Linked DNA regions of Homo sapiens: region 2 is linked to region 1. The links are contacts of gene promoters, found by promoter capture Hi-C in blood cells and fetal thymus (Javierre and others, 2016). All regions are on one chromosome and are shown on one strand. Each heading gives the region's core, a stretch centred on a gene start or on the middle of the fragment in contact. The rest is flanking DNA. Distances are from core to core; before and after follow the strand shown. Region 1 holds the start of ALKBH3 (alkB homolog 3, alpha-ketoglutarate dependent dioxygenase). Region 2 has its middle 16 kb from the start of HSD17B12.

What was found. Contacts are between HindIII fragments. The CHiCAGO score rates a contact against its expected background, and 5 or more counts as called.
Region 2: a contact is called between a fragment that was not itself captured here and the fragment with the promoter of ALKBH3 in region 1, in 1 of 17 cell types (neutrophils). The highest score is 7.4, in neutrophils.

What each region holds. Positions count from the first base shown.
Region 1 is chr11:43,878,942-43,882,657 of GRCh38, forward strand. It overlaps ALKBH3 (alkB homolog 3, alpha-ketoglutarate dependent dioxygenase), which reads left to right and starts at 1,890. Exons shown (of 10, transcript NM_139178.4): 1 at 1,890-2,238; 2 at 3,642-3,716. The coding sequence starts at 3,712. LOC105376644 (a long non-coding RNA gene) reads right to left here and starts at 1,796. Exons shown (of 3, transcript XR_001748200.2): 1 at 1,741-1,796. RefSeq lists an enhancer at 1,676-1,875. The HindIII fragment of the contact is 7,136 bases long and covers 1-2,344 here.
Region 2 is chr11:43,663,144-43,666,859 of GRCh38, forward strand. It overlaps a transcript of HSD17B12 not described here. Among named protein-coding and RNA genes, the nearest start is that of HSD17B12, 16 kb to the right of the region's middle. The HindIII fragment of the contact is 9,786 bases long and covers 1-3,716 here.

The DNA of each region.
Region 1 (3,716 bases), core at 640-3,139:
GAGTAGTCAAACACTGTGGGCCACTGTGCACTAAAGAGCCAGCTGAGAGGAGCACACTGGAACCAGAAAAAAGAGCCCCTTCCTCCTCTAAAGTTCCTCCAGTACCCTCCACTGATGAAGCTCACTGTCCATTGAACCAAAAGGCAAGGGAGAAACCTTCCAATATTGCAAACAGGGTAGTGAAGGGTGGGTTTGGAATGGAGACTCAATAGGTTGATAATTGGCAACACACTTCGCCTTCATTCCTTCTCCCATGGTCTCTACCACCACCTCCTGATAAAAACTCAAACACTTCAAATAGAAATAAGAAAGTCAAGACCCTAATGAGGATGCCAAGACCATTAAGAACATCTAATACTATATACTCGCATCGTCTAGGGTAACCAACCATCTCAGTTTGCCCAGGACTGTCCTGGCTTTAGCACTTAAAGTCCTGTGTCTTGGGAAACTCCTCAGGCCCATACAAACCAGAACAATTTGTCATCCTACATATGTCCTAGAGGTTTTCAAAATTTTTGTGCACCAGAATCACTTGGGTGCTTGTTAAAAACGCAGGTGATTCTGTTAAACAAAAAAAAAGCAGTAATTTCAGATGCAAGTAAATCATGGATTGATCTTTGAGAAATACACTACGTAGAGGCTGAAGAGGTGTCAATCACTACTTTTAGGAACTCCTCAATCCAGACTTCTTTGTTCCTGTTCCAAAACTATAATCATTGAAAAGAAAGAAATAACATATTTTAGAAGATACAGCCAAAGTTCCTGAGCCAGAAGCAGACATTGACAAATTAGTTGATGGGGGAAAAAAACTGTAGTGTGGCCTTAGCATTTTCTCTCCTTTCAGGTCTAGGATAAATCATTTTTTTCCTTCAGTGTCACAAAGTATAACAAATAATAATGAGTGCTGTGAAAATGGATTTGATAGTAGCAACAATATAGGTACACATTGATGAGGTGTACCTATAATGAGCTTCCTGAAGGTAAACACTCATATCAGGCTTATTTTAAAGATTTCCACAGTGACTATACTTTGGCGGATCTTAGAGAATGACTTGCATAAAACAGTCAATTCAGTGCTACTTTTGCTATTTTCATACTGTAAAGTACATGGTTTAACATGACCATTTTAAAGATGTTTCTCATGAGCTCAAATGGGGTGAGCTCTTTTTCATTTTTTGAGTTTTTGTTGTGTTCCAGGCATTGTGCTATATTCTTTAAATGCATTATCTCACTTAATCCTCCCAAAAAGAGCGATACCCATTTTAAAAAGAGGCAGAGTACTTGCCCTAGATTATACAACTAGTAAGTGGTGGTGTCTGGGCCAAAATGTAGGTCTGTTCACTCAAGCAAATTTGCTTAGCACTGGAGAGAGCCAAGGTGAATTAAGGCGTGGTCCTACGCCCTGCTGTAAATGCTGTGTTCGGAGGTGTGCACAGGCTGCAATAGGAACACAAAGGAGGCTCATTTCAGGCTCTCCGTGGTTTTTAGGATAAAATGCAAATCCTTTTGCCTAACACATTATAACCAGGTCCCCCAAACTCCTCTCCCTTTATCTAGTCCCACAGGGACCCGGTCACTCTTTCTGCCACAAAGATGCCGATGCTTGGACATCTCCAGTTTCGAGGAACTCACGTAGGAGACACGCCTTCACTTCCACCTTTGCCAAACCCCGACCCCTTCACACCGCTCCCCTGCACTCTCAATCCCTGTCCGCTGCAACACATATCCCCTCATCAGCACCTTCGGTGATTAGGCCCTCCAGGCGCGGGGGATGTGGGACTACCCGGACTGAGGACTGCGCACCGGAAGTAGTGGCGGCGCTGCGTAACGTCGAGAGGAAGTGCCTGATGCCGCGGCCTGTGATTGGGAGTTGCTGGAGTCGGTGCTTCACTCTTAAGGTTCCGATCACAGACTGCGGAGTGGGTCAGGGGCTGCGAGGGCTGCCCCAAGTCCTACCGGGTTTGCACGGGCGCGCCCGGCTCCGCCCGCAAGTGCGCCTTCCTGACTTACTGCTGGGTGCGCGGGGCTGGGGGTGCGAGTACCACCCCTGAAGTCTCTTCCTGGGCGACCTCCGGGGCCTCATTCTAGGCCTCCTTAAAGAGAAGGATCTAAATTAGGAAAAGGAAGTGCCCTTATCCACGACCAAGCTCTTCCACCTGCGGAGCTCGCTTAGTCTGCACCTCAACCGTGCGGAAAGTGACTGCCCTGTTTACTGAGGAAAAACTGGGGCTCAGAAAGGTGAAGTCATTTGCCATGGGCCATGCAGCTGGGAAGTGACAGATCTGGATTCAAAGCGAGTTCTGGCTGGCGCCAGAGTCCTTGTATTTTACAGCACTGGTTCTCAAGCTTTATGTGCATTAAGAATTCCTGGGTTGAGGGTGGCGTTAGTTAACAAATTCTGGGACTCTACAAATTGAGTAGATCTGGGATGGGGCTCTGGAATCTATTTTCAACAATTGTTCCCTGGCAAATAACATATGGCTCCCCAGTGAATGGAGCAAGAAGGTGAGCAAGTCGTATCCTCTGCGGGGACTGTAGGTAATTGTGTTACGCTTTTAGGGCCTCAATTGAGAGAACATGTCAAACGGGAGCTCCTGGGATTGGAGAATTGGTATTTGATTGTCATTAACTCTTCTGGGCAGATGGCAGCCTCTGCGTCTCTCCACCTATTAAATGAAATGAATTACATGCTTATCATCTGGGGGAACTTGTTAAACACACAGATTCCTGGGCCTGGCTCAGCTCTACTGAATCAGAAGAGGTGGGAGATGGGACCTGGGAATCTATAGTCTAAGCAAGCTATTAATATAAAACGAGCTTTTACCTTTGAGAACTTGAGGTGTGAAGCTTTCTTAGGTAGAAGCATAAAGAAATAGATTACAGATGTGGAACATGTGGCTTGAATTTCCTTGTTGTTTTGGTAGCTGTACGTGCTTCTGCATTTGCTGTAGGCTAAGCTTTTACTGGTACAACTGTCAAATTAGTATTATTAGCCATTATGAGGTGGATTTATCCGTTAGCTGGAGACAGGAGTTTAATATAAGTTGAATGTTAATCTGTCTGTTGTTGATTTCCTGAGTGGCTTTGGGTGCATCATTGAACTTTACCGTCCACATACATACCTGCATTGTGTCAAATCTTACACTGCTTGTTATAAAGACAAATACCTGTATCCATCCTAAATCAGATTTTCTGAAGGTGGGCCATAGGTATTTTGAACAAACTTCCAGGGAAGTTTGATGCAGCCAGTGATAATGGAATATATGCTTGGAAACAGTCTTAGCCGATTTCTCAATGTCCATGTAGGTGAAAATGGGAATAGTACAGTTTCCTTATATTCTACTCTTGGGGACTATTAAGAGGAATGTGGTTTATAATAGGTCCTAATTTTAGAATTTCTTAAAATGCACTTTCTTGTGAAAGAAACAAAAGTACTATGGTAAGATTACAAAAGGTGAATGCTAAAGCCAGCAGCCCCAAATGACTAGGCTTCTTGAATGAAATGTTGTGATGACATAAACTGATTTTACATGGAAGCTCTATTGCCATTGAGAGTCTTCTGCCTGAAATTAATTATGCCTTAGGAGTAATTGTTCACAATCCTAACTAAAAGCACTGTTTTGTTTTGTTTTAATAAACAGATACCATGGAGTAGTTTGAAACAGGAACAAAATCTTCTGAAAGCTCGGAGCAGAAGCCTTTTTGGTCAACATGGA
Region 2 (3,716 bases), core at 776-3,275, 220 kb before region 1:
GTGATCTCAGCTCACTGCAACCTCCGCCTCCCTGCAACCTCCCGTTTCCGGATTCAAGTGATTATCTTGCCTCAGAACTCGCAAGTAGCTGGGATGCAGGCATGTGCCACCACGCCCAGCTAATTTTTGTATTTTTAGTAGCGACAGGGTTTCACCATGTTGGCCAGGCTGGTCTCAAACTCCTGACCTCAAGTGATCTGCCTGCCTCAGTCTCCCAGAGTATTGAGATTACTGGCGTGAGCCACCATGCCTGGCCTATTTTTTATTTTTTATAGAGATAGTCTCACCATGTTGCCCAGGCAGGTCTCAAACTCCTAGCCTCAAGCAGTCCTCTTGCATTAGCCTCCCAAAGTGCCAGGATTACAGACATGAGCTACCATGACCAGCCAATTGGATATATTTTTGAATATCATCAATTTTTTGAAAGTAAGGCAGACAAATTTTGTTAGTGGTAGCCTTCAAACATTTTAAACCATGTTTTCTGTATACTTGGAAACCTGTAGTCAAAAATTATAATCTTGTCCATGTTACCAACTGAACTGGAGTTCCTTAGCCTGGCATAGTAAGGCCAACACCTACACCAAGGTTTGCAGTGGGAGAAAGAAGCATGTTTACGTACAGGGTGCCAAGCAAGGAGTATCAGGCAGTGCACGCTTAAGATTCAACCCCTCTAGTGGCTTACAGGTAAGGGTTTTTATTTTTATTTTTTTATTTTTTATTTTTATTATTTTTTTTTTGAGATGGAGTCTCGCCCTGTTGCCCAGGCTGGAGTGCAGTGGCGTGATCTCAGCTCACTGCAACCTCTGCCTCCTGGGTTCAAGCGATTCTCCTGAGTAGCTGGGATGACAGGCATGCGCCACCATGCCTGGCTAATTTCTGTATTTTTAGTAGAGACAGGGTTTCATCATATTGGTCAGGCTGGTCTCAGTACTCCTGATGTCGTGATCTGCCTGCCTCAGCCTCCCAAAGTGCTGGGATTACAGGCTTGAGCCACTATGCCCGGCCCAGGTAAGGGTTTCTAAGGCAGGGAGGCAGAGGTTACAGGCTAAGTCATAAATCAGTATATGGAGGTTATACATTGGTTTGGCCTAAAAGGGTGGGATATCTTGAAGCAGAGGCTTACAGACCATATGTAGATTCAAAGATGTTCTCATTTGCAGTTTGAGTAAGGGAGAGAAGCTCTGTTTAAAAATTTGGGGTCAGCAGAAAAGAATATTTGTACTGGCTCATGGGCATGACTTCCTCCAGGCCCCTCAAGAAGAAATTTAGAACAAAAAACAGCAGGCCTCAGAGTTCATTCCTCAGTTCCCTCTTATCTGAGGCCTATGTGCCAGCCGATCCATTTGGTGGGGGTCTGTGTTTCTGAAAAATAACACAGGGACATGTGTTAAGATGTTATCTTTAGTTTTTTTACATAGGGAACCAAACATCACTCTAACTTCCATGGCTATTGTTCTAGGCTACTCCTACCTTCTTGCTTATGAAGTTGCTCATTTACTTCTCAAGACTAGCTAGGAGCCTGGAACTTCCCTTGAAGGAATTTAAGATGTTCCTTTATTTTCATGCTTGGGGGTGCCCACAAGTCCCTAAGAGGGGTCCCTGCTCTGTCTCATACACAAATTATTTCTTGTTGTTTCTCCATAAATTTGCAATTAATAGGATTTCTAGTAACGGAGTTTTTAATGTTAAGCCCAGTTTACTAAACATCTTGCATGAATAAGGAATATTCTTGGTTTTTGGAAAGCAAGTCTTTCTAACATTTGCATTTAAAAGATTAAAATGTCTCGTTCATGAAACGATGAATGAAGAGCTTATTTATGAGGATCCTGTGAAGGCTTTTGGTCTTCCTGCAAATCCAGATCAGAAAGAGACCCATGTTAAAGTCTTTATAGAAAAAATGTTCATTCATATCCTTCTTAAACACGTAATATACATGATAATGTAATACATAATATATTAATAGTTGTAAATAAGGCAATTCTGAAAGAGAAGTGTCTGACACAGTGCATAGATTGGAAGCAGAAAACAAAGCCCTAGAATTACTCATGTCTTGACAAAGGTTGTTTTTCCCTAACTAAAACTCTGGTTTTAAAGTTTTATTTATTTATTTAGTCGCCTAGGCTGGAGTGCGGTGGTGCGATCTGGGCCCACTGCAACCTCCATCTCCCGGGTTGAAACGATTCTTGTGCCTCAGCCTCCTGAGTAGCTGGGACTGCAGGCATGCGCCACCATGCCCAGCTAATTTTTAAATTTTTTGTAGAGACAGGATCCCACTATGTTGCCCATACTGATCTCGAACTCCTGACCTCAAGTGATCTTCCCGTCTCAGCCTCCTAAAGTGATGGGGTTACAGGAGTGAGCCACCATGCCTGGTGATAACTACTATTGATGAGAATGAGATGAAGCAAATAATCCATTGACCACTTGTGGAAGTGTAAATCTAGTAGGTCCTTCAGGTTTCTTGGTGTCATCCTCCCTGAAAGGTAGACATTATTTGCATCCCCATTTTACAGGTAAGCTAACTAAATACCAGAATGGCCAAGGTCACACAACTGAGGGCTCATTCTGAAAAAGAAAAAGAAGATTCTATTCCTGATATGCTTTGCTCTACACACGCACACACGCGCATGCACACACACACACACACAAGCATGCCTTGTCTAAAATTATCTTCTGATCTGGGTGATCCCAGCTAATTGAGAGAAACAGCAAAGATAAATCCAACCCTTGGCCTGGAGCAAAGCCTGCTGATATCAGCCTATATTGGCCAAATTCTTGTCAACCCACGGAGTAGACAAGTTGGGAATGAGAAGTAGATGGAGTTTATTGTACGCCAAGGATATTTTATGGTTGTATGTGGTTAACCACAGACTCAGGTGCATCTTACCACACCTGGCTCACTTTTAAATTAGCTTTCCATCATTCCCATTCCCACCCTCCCTTCCTTTCCACTCCAGTCATGCTACTCTTTCTTCCTTCCTGCATTTTTTCCACTTTAGAGCCCTTAGGCATGCTAGTCCCTCCATTTTCTCAATATCTGGGTGCTAGGAAAGGGGAAATATTTATTTTTATTTTTTTGAGGCAGGGTCTTACTCTATCACCCAGGCTGGAGTGCAGTGGTGCAGTCATGGCTTACTGCAGCCTCAACCTCCTGGGCTCAATAGATCCTCCCAACCTCAGCTCCCCTAGCAGCTGGGACCTTAGGCACACACCACCCCGCCCAGGTAACTTTTATTTTTTTGGCAAAGACAGAGTTTTGCCATACTGCCCAGGCTGGTCTTAAACTCCTGGACTCAAGCAGTCCTCCTGCCTCAGCTTCCCAAAGTGCTGGGACTGCAGGCGCACACCACCACACCTGGCCATTTTTTGTTTGTTTGTTTTGTAGAGACAGCATCTCACCATGTTGCCTAGGCTGGTCTCAAACTACTGAACTCAAGTGATCCACCTGCCTGGGCCTCCCAAAGTGCTGGCCTATTTTTCATTCTTTGCCTAGTTTGAAAGAAGATTTTGAGGGGACTCATTAACATTCTCATAATACAAAATAAGGAAAATTAATAGAAGGAGGCTAGAGACAGGAAAATATGTTTAGATACCCTGTATAGATAATGTGAATGTCGTTCACTATACTTCACACGACATTTTCTGGTATTCTGATTATTAAAATGTTCCATGTAAACAGGGCAACATGAGACGATTTTCCTAAGATCACTCTTAAG